2 separate regions of the Homo sapiens genome follow, and region 1 is linked to region 2. Evidence: promoter capture Hi-C in 16 types of primary human blood cells and fetal thymus (Javierre and others, 2016). All regions are on one chromosome and are shown on one strand. Each heading gives the region's core, a stretch centred on a gene start or on the middle of the fragment in contact. The rest is flanking DNA. Distances are from core to core; before and after follow the strand shown. Region 1 overlaps TWSG1 (twisted gastrulation BMP signaling modulator 1). Region 2 holds the start of ANKRD12 (ankyrin repeat domain 12).

The links. The method cuts DNA at HindIII sites, captures the fragments that hold promoters and counts their contacts. A CHiCAGO score of 5 or more calls a contact.
Region 1: a contact is called between a fragment that was not itself captured here and the fragment with the promoter of ANKRD12 in region 2, in 2 of 17 cell types (megakaryocytes and M2 macrophages). The highest score is 5.0, in megakaryocytes.

The regions. Positions count from the first base shown.
Region 1 is chr18:9,353,010-9,357,257 of GRCh38, forward strand. All of the region lies in intron 2 of TWSG1 (twisted gastrulation BMP signaling modulator 1), which reads left to right. Among named protein-coding and RNA genes, the nearest start is that of TWSG1, 20 kb to the left of the region's middle. The HindIII fragment of the contact is 2,678 bases long and covers 433-3,110 here.
Region 2 is chr18:9,135,025-9,139,141 of GRCh38, forward strand. It overlaps ANKRD12 (ankyrin repeat domain 12), which reads left to right and starts at 1,757. Exons shown (of 13, transcript NM_015208.5): 1 at 1,757-1,941. It overlaps NDUFV2-AS1 (NDUFV2 antisense RNA 1), which reads right to left and starts at 1,696. Exons shown (of 3, transcript NR_110772.1): 1 at 1,340-1,696. RefSeq lists silencers at 859-1,032, 1,035-1,124, 1,475-1,824, 2,035-2,434, 2,475-2,524 and enhancers at 1,315-1,364, 1,855-1,904. The HindIII fragment of the contact is 1,483 bases long and covers 1,375-2,857 here.

The DNA of each region.
Region 1 (4,248 bases), core at 522-3,021, 220 kb after region 2:
ACCTTTTCTATGTTTAGATATGTGTAGACATGCAAATATTTACCATTGTGTTATAATTGCTTACAGTATTCAGAACAGTAACATGCTGTACAGGTTTGTAGCCTAGGAACAATAGGCCATACCATATAGCCTAGGGTTATAGCAGGCTCTACCATGTAGGTTTGTATAAGTATATACTGATATTCATATAACAACAGAATTGCCTAAGGATGCATTTTTCAGAATGTATCCCTATCCTTAAGCGATAAAGCGTGACTGTATATGGAATAAGATTCTTCTCTAAAGATGATCGAATCTGTCTTCTGGCATCTAAAAATTTGAAATTCTCTGTCATATTGAAGGTTTTCCTTAATATAAATGTAGTAAAATACATTTTGAATGATTAGATTTTTCCCTCAAACTTTTCATCCTGCCAGACTTTCATTTCATATAAGCTTTGAAAACAGTTTGCCAAATTCTCTCTAAATACTCATACTGGTCAATAGAGAGTAGCTCAAATGTATAAATTTCAGTTTACCATTTAGTGTAAAGTTTTAATTTTTTTCCATCATAAAATTATTGAACAACGTGTCTACCAAACTTTAAGAACATCTAGCATAGTTATTTACACATAGAAGATGTCTTATTCCATATTACCTTGCCTCTAACATGCAAGAGCAGTGGTGGTAGAAAAAGCCTTGAGTCAGAAGACCTTGTTTCAAAGCCGCAGTTGTGTGAACTCACAGAAATCATGAAACCACTCATTCTCAGCCTTCTCTTCTCCACATGAGGAACAACCACACTTTCTCTGTGACTTGCAGACTAGGGAAGCAGAAGATATAGTCATTAACCAGCTGAAGCGACAACAAAAAAAATTAAGTATTGCATTCCAAGTCACTGGTTTTGCAACTCTTAGCCAATGAGTCCAATTTTACCTTTACAAACAATGATTAAACTTGGGCAATAGCATTTCTAGTTGTATTCAGGTACTGAGAGTGAAAGATATAATAATGCCTTTGATTAAACAATCTAAAGAATTATCTAAGTTTAATTATAGGCTTATTCTTTCTAAGAGAGTAATAACTGTAATTATTAAAATGTTAATTTAATGAAAAATAACTTTTATATTTCTCATTTTAATGTTTACAAAACAGGAATACCTAACCATAACTGGGGTCAAATTCTAGCCACTAATTGAATGAAGTTGTATAAATTTCATGACTTCACTTAAAAAATAAGGATAATAACGACATGAATCTTTATGAGATTCAAGACAATGCATATAAAATACTTAGCACAGTGCCTATAAGGGTTAAATAGAACCCATTTAAGGACTTTGGGGGAGGTGGTAGCAGTAAATAATTGGAAGCATTGAGTCAGTCTTTATTTTGGACTTCAGGGAACTTGGTGTTTAGTTTTGATCACATGTTCCATTCAACTGAGCAGAACCCAAATTTAGTCATAGTGAGGTTAGTAAAATATATAAATAACCCAGTCCAAAGAGAAGATTCTAAATTTCAACTCTACCGTATTTTCTGTTTAAGGAGTGGAGACTTTGAAATAATAGTAAAATAGAAACTGATGAAGTTTATGAAGGTGATAAAAAATGAGAAAGTGGACAAGGTGTGGAAAGGATTAAGAATTTAATCACTGTTTCTGAATTTTGGCACATTGATGTACTATTATGCGCTGATTAAATTATGTTGACAGATTTTTTATGATAGAGAAATGCTATTTTTTTAGATCAAGGTAGTATATAATCATTATTTTGTTAGACATGCATAGGAATTTACCAAAGGGGGAGGAATTTAGGGTTCTTTCTTTCTACTCTAGTAGATATTTTCCAAAGTCTTATATAATTAAAGAAATACTTTTAAAATTTTGGTAAAACCTTTCTTTTTATCTTGACTTTAGCCTTTCTGGTTATAGAAGACATGTGTTCTTATAAGTGAAACAGCTAGGGGTAAAGTTTTCTTTTTTTTTTTGAGACAGAGTCTCGCTCTGTTGTCCAGGCTGGAGTGCAGTGGCCCCATCTCGGCTCACTGCATACTCCGCCTCCCAGGTTAACGCCATTCTCCTGCCTCAGCCTCCTGAGTAGCTGGGACTACAGGCACCCGCCACCATGCCCAGCTAATTTTTTGTATTTTTTGGTAGAGACGGGGTTTCACCATGTTAGCCGGGATGGTCTCGATCTCCTGACCTTGTGATCCGCCTGCCTTGGCCTCCCAAAGTGCTGGGATTACAGGCGTGAGCCACCACACCCGGCCTAAAGTTTTCTTTTTAAGTGTTCTGAAGAACAGATTCTGCTTGATTTAAATGGGGCAGTTTTTATGTTTTTCTGTAATCCTTGTTTCATCACAGAGAGTTGTTCTGAGTTGTTTTTTCTTTTCTATTTTCAATACTTGAGTTCAAAGCACTTTACAAATGTTATTATATTTAGAAACATTCATCCTAACCGCAGCTTGCTTGCTGTTAAAAATATTATACATTTCTAAATATGTTCACAACCAAACATTATTCAATAATGTGATTTTTAAGGGCATGTAGAATGAATAGAAAAGAATGAATTACTTGATGAGCTTCATAAAACTGCTATTTATAATTATTTGCATGTGGAAATTCATTGTTTCAGTTTGTTTCTTGACTTAAAAACAGTAGTCATAGAGTAGACATATTTTTGCTCTCCTGATTTGCAGTAAGATTTTAAATGCCATCTATTAAATTTGCCTATTATATTTCTCCTGAAAAGTAAGAGGTGTGTTTTTGAAAATGGAAAAGGCACAGATGCTGTTTTCAGGCACAAACTCTGTTTTCAAAAGGTCGGTTTGAAGAGCTTGTTTTTCTTATTTGCCCATCTCCTAAAAAGAATGCTGACGTGAGTTATGAAGAATAGAGAGTATTTGATGTATGTGGAGGCTCATTTACCCAAATTATGAACATTTCTTAATTTATGGTGATTAAATTTCTGCTTTATTAAGACAATGGTTTTTTAGTCTTTTCTGTAGTAATGTAGAAAGAAAGAAAAATATTAGCCAGGATATTGTTGTTTGGTGTCCAACAAGTTTTAATAGTAGTTTTTACCATTAAAGTCTTAAACTGGATTTTTGTCTCTTTAATTGTACAGTAATGAAAGCTTATCTCTGTCGTTTCCCTCTTGTTTCTCCTTACCATAGCTTTTAACGTTGTATTCTATCACTAAATTATAAAGCAGTAAGCATATGACTACAGCATATTACTCTCTTACACCAGTATGTAAAAGTGCAGGACAGGCATCTATTAAGAGGGTGTGAAATACATTTAATCTTCAGAGCTAGATAACCTGGGCAAGTTCAAGCGACTTTTAAATAGGCCGTTAGTTTTAACTTTCTGTTTGTTCGCAGTAATCTCATTCTCACCCACCTTTTCATTCTAGTTTAAAACACTTCACAAATACCTGACAGTAAAAGGCATAATGAATGCTTCACAGACTCAGATTTCTCTAATGGGAACTATTAAATTGACATTCATTTAAAAAAATTATTTGGCATAATATACAGTAATTCATTTAGCAAGCTACCATTTGGAAGCTGCAGAAAAAGGAGAGACTATATTCTTTGAATAGATTTGTTACTTTTCTAATTTGTTTCTCCTTAGTTTAGTTAATAATATAAATACAGGTTGAACATTTCAAATCCAAAAATCTGAAATCCAGAATGCTCCAAAATCGGAAACTTTCTGAGCATTGACATGACATCAAAGGAAATGCTCATTGAAAGAGTTTAGATTTTTGGATACAGGATGCTCAACTGGTATAATGCAAATATTACAAAATCCAAATAAACTCAAAAATCCAAAACACTTTTGGTACCCAGCATTTCAGATAAGGAATACTCAACCTGTATAAGCAACTAAGATAGTGAAAGGATATTTTCTACATATAAAGTAAATTAAAATTTTTTAAAAAGCTTTATTTCTTGTGACTAAGTGCTAACCTTTATAAATCTAAAAAAAAAAAAAAAAAAAAGACTGTTAGTATTCTTATCTGATGGTGTTTCTAAAAAGTGCGTACTCAGAAAATGTTCTTTTACTCCAAAGACAAAGTATAGCTTTGGCAACTCTGTTTTTCTACATTTCCAACTAAGTTTGAGCCTGTCTGAATCACGCATCACCAGTTTTGTGATGAAACAGCTATACTTCTCATTAAGTCTCTGCCCTTTCAGTCCCTCTGTTTCTGATAGGCCCAGCAAAGTTACCTAATGTCTATGTCACATGAATGCAGCCTGAGTGTAC
Region 2 (4,117 bases), core at 507-3,006:
GGATAAACCCTTTTGTGTATTTAAGAAATTAGCTGTAGTACATTAGTTTTGCATTAGCCAGCTTTAATGCATGAATAATTTATATTAATCTAATCCTCGATTTCTCAAAGTCACCTGTACTTGAAACAGACTATTCACTAGTAATTATGCTTTTTTTTTTTGAGACAGGCTGTGTCCCCAGGCTGGAGTGCAGTGGTGTGATCTTGGTTCACTGCAATACCCTGGCCTCAGCCTCCTGAGCAGCTGGGAGCACAGGCAGGCGCCACCAGCCTGGTTAATTTTCATATATTTTTTTAGAGACAGGGTCTTACTATGTTGCCTGGCTGGTCTCAAACTCCTGGGCTCAAGCCATCTGCCCGCCTGAGCCTCCCAAATTGCTGGGATTACAGGCGTGAGCCACTGCGCTCGGCTATAACGATTATTTTTAAGTATGTCTTTAAGATTTTTTTTTTAATTGAGAGAAGGTAAACAACAGTTAATTTTCCAAGTGGCACAAAAAAGTAACAATGAAAATGTCCTACCCTGGAGCTCTCCTGACTTTCTCATAGGCGACTGTTTTTTTCTTTGTATTTCACATCATAAATAACCAAGTTAAATGTAACACTATTCCACCTCTAGCCATAAGGTGCTCTTTTTCTAGTCTTGTTGACCCTAAAGATTTGTAGGTGGGAGAAATCAGGAACCCAGGAAAGGAAAAACTCCTGATCTTTAATGCAGGTTTATGCTTTACATAGTAATTTGATGGGACCTCGCCGTCCCTGTCAGGTCTGAATGTCACTTCATCTGCTGTGATCACACCTGAACCCTCAGTTCATCAAGACGTTAAAGGACAGTGTAACATAAACTTGTAACTGCATGCACTAAGTCATAAACAGACGCTGTTGTTGCAGATTAACCTCTACGTAAATAACGCGCCCAGAAGGGAGTGAGTACACGCTGCTGCCACGCTGCGACGGTCAATTTTCCTCCGGCACCCTTCCTAGTACCTGAGCAGCTCCCTCTCAAATCCCCAACACTACGTGTGGGAGGGTGCACTGAATTCCTCTTTAAAAAGGCCACTGGAAGGCGTGGCTGGGAGGGGACGCGCTCTAGACCCCCTGGTGCCAGGGCAGGTGCACGCTACCGCGCTTTCGGGGCGGGGCCCAGGGCCCCACCTGAGGCGGGGGGCCGCGGGCTCTGGGCGTAGGTGCAGCTTCTCCGGCCTGGTGCGGGGCCAGACGGCCGCCGCCGGCTTAGCGGGGGAACTTCGCCTAGTCCTCGGGCTGCGGTCGCAGCGTCATTTTGCCTGAGTTGGATCACGCTCGTCCACCCACCCCGTGTAAAAATAACAGGTGAATACCCTATGTGGGGGTCCTCATCGCCGCCATTTCCAGAAGCTTCCAGTCACAGCCACTGCCACGGTCGCCACAAATGCTACTGCAGAGCCCGCTTGCCCAGCAGCGTCACCGGCGCCTGCCCTGCCTCTTCGCCCAGCCTTTGATTCCCCCTCCTTTGTCGGATAGTGTCTGCGGCGGGGAGGCGGTGACACTAGTCCGAGTGGGGCGTGGAGACCGACCAGCACGAAGGGCGGAGTTCCGGCCCGCACCCCTCCGCCGCCTGCCGCTTGGTACGTCCCGCTTCCCCGCCCTGCGGCTCGCGGAGCCTGGCTGAGCAGCAGGAGGGGCGGGCGCCGGGGGGCGGGGCGGTCACGCCGCCCGTCCCGTGCCCGCGGTAGTCACGTGTCCGCGGGTGTCACGTGCTCGCGTCGCAGCCAATCGCGGGGCGACGCTGTCCTGGGAGCGAGGAGGCTGTGGTGAGAGACGGACCGAGACCGGAGATGTTTTCAAGCCCGGCTCCGGCGGCTTTACAGGCGGCTGCAGCGGCGACGAAGACAACGACAGCGACGGCTACGCCGAAGCACTCGTTCCGGGGGTGAAGCCTCCTGCGCCGGCCTTGCCTCGGGTCCGTACGGGTGAGGGGGGCGTGGCGACAGGAAAGGAGGAAGGAGGGGCGCGGTTTCGAGCTTGTCCCCGGCGCCAGGGAGGAGATCCCCTCAGTTCTGCGCTGCTCCCGTTCCCCCTCCCCAGAGCAAGGTAGGGGACGCGCCCTGCCCGCCCCCCCCGGTCCCGACGCGCCGCCCGCCCAGCCTGGCCCGAGCCGTAGCTCGCCTGACAGTGACAGGCCGTTAGTGCCCCCCGGCGCGGGTCCGCCGGGGCCCCGCCCGCCGCCGCCCCTCCCGGCGTCGCGAGGAGCCGCGGCGCAGGTGGGAGCCGCCAACTGGGCGGGGGCGCTGCGCGGGGCGGGGCGGGGGCCGGGCGGAGGGCCGCGAGCTGGCCTCGTCGCGGGCGCCCCTCACCGCGGCTGGCGGGGCTGGGCTGCCGCCGCCTCCCGGAACATGGCGGGGCCGGAGGAGCGTGTGCGTGCGAGTGTGAGTGTGCGCGGCCGAGAGGGCGCCGCTGGCGTGCGGCGGTCGGACCCGCGGGGGCGGGGGCGCGCCCGGCCCGCCGCGCGTTCCCGCCGCCAGCCGCCGAGCGTGCGCCGACGCCGGGGAGTCTGCCGCGGCCGCTCGGGCCGGGAGCGTCGGAGGTACCCGGGTCCTGGGAGAGGTGGATGAAATCAAGAAGGGGAAATTGCTGCTTTAGTAGTGTCCGGGGAAAGAGCAGCCACTCTACAGTTCTGTCTTAAATGCCAGTGTAAAATAACCTTGCCGCATTGGACAGGCAGTTCCCGTCATCGTTTTTCAAGTACCCACTTGTGATGCTTCAAGACCCCTGGAGCACGTCAGGTTCTTAGATCTCGTTTTGAGGAGTGATGTGGAGTGACGCATCCTTACAGATCCCAAAGCGTTGAATAAACGGTTGTACAAAGAGGTATGCGAAGCTTAGCTGACAGCTGTTTTAGTAATAACAGTAAGACGCTGTCTGGGATAGGAAGTTACTGTTGCACTCGTTGAAACCTTAGGAAACATTTAAAGCAGTGTAGTCACCGGGATTGTAATTTCCACTGGACACCCGTGGTTAAACTGCGAACTAAGGTGAAGTGTGTTGCAGATCCAGTGCTGTGTATGTAATGGTTCGGAATTACCTCTAATCCTAAAGTTGAAATGAGCCTGCATCTGCAGTCATGTATTTCGTTTTCATTTTAGAATGGTTTATGTAAATTATAAAGAAAGGCTAGTGAAATAGCTATTTTATCGTAAATTAACTGTGTATTAAAAACATATGCACAGCCGGGCGCGGTGGCTCATGCCTATAATCCCAGCACTTTGGGAGGCCGACGTGGGTAGATCACCTGAGGTCAGGAGTTCGAGACCAGCCTGACCAATATAGTGAAACCCCCGTCTCTACTAAATATACAAAATTAGCCAGGCGTGGTGGCGCATGTCTGTAATCCCAGCTACTTGGGAAGCCGAGGCAGGGGAATCGCTTGAACCCGGGCGGCAGAGGTTGCAGTGAGCCGAGATCGTGCCACTGCACTCCAGCCTGGGCCACAAGAGCGAAACTCCGTCGCAAAAACATACCAAAACAAACAAACAAACAAACAAAAAAACATATGCTCAAGTAGGCCGTTAAAAATCTTGGGCACTGATCTGAGTTTCTTTAATCGTTATACAAAGCCTTTCCTGGAGATTAGCTCAGAACTGGCAGAACATATGCTCTATTGGTGCCAAGTGGCTTAAAAGCAAAATGAGGATAGTGTCCACCGTGTAAGATGAAGTCGTTATATTAACAGTCTTGTTGAGAAAAATCTTTAATTTGGGTTAAAAGCAGGAGCCTTTAAAAATTTGAAATGTTTACCCCTGGAGATTATAGACAAGGGGAGAAAAGTTTTACTACTTAAGGATCTTTTATATTTGATACAGGCACTGAATAAATTTCTGAAGCTCTACAGGCATCTTGGCTAAGGTCAAGTTTAACTCGTTATGTGTTTTAGAGACAGATGAGGTGTTAAAATGGAAGGAAAATGAGTGTTAAGTGTACTTATGTAGGATACTTTTAATGTTCTTAATCTTGTATAGTTTTCATAATCTCATAATTTTCATAGTAGTTGGTAAGAATTAGTTATCGGAATAGTTTTATGAACTACGCAGAACTGGGAAAGTGGAAATCTCTGGGTGTGTATTCCATGAAGAATATTT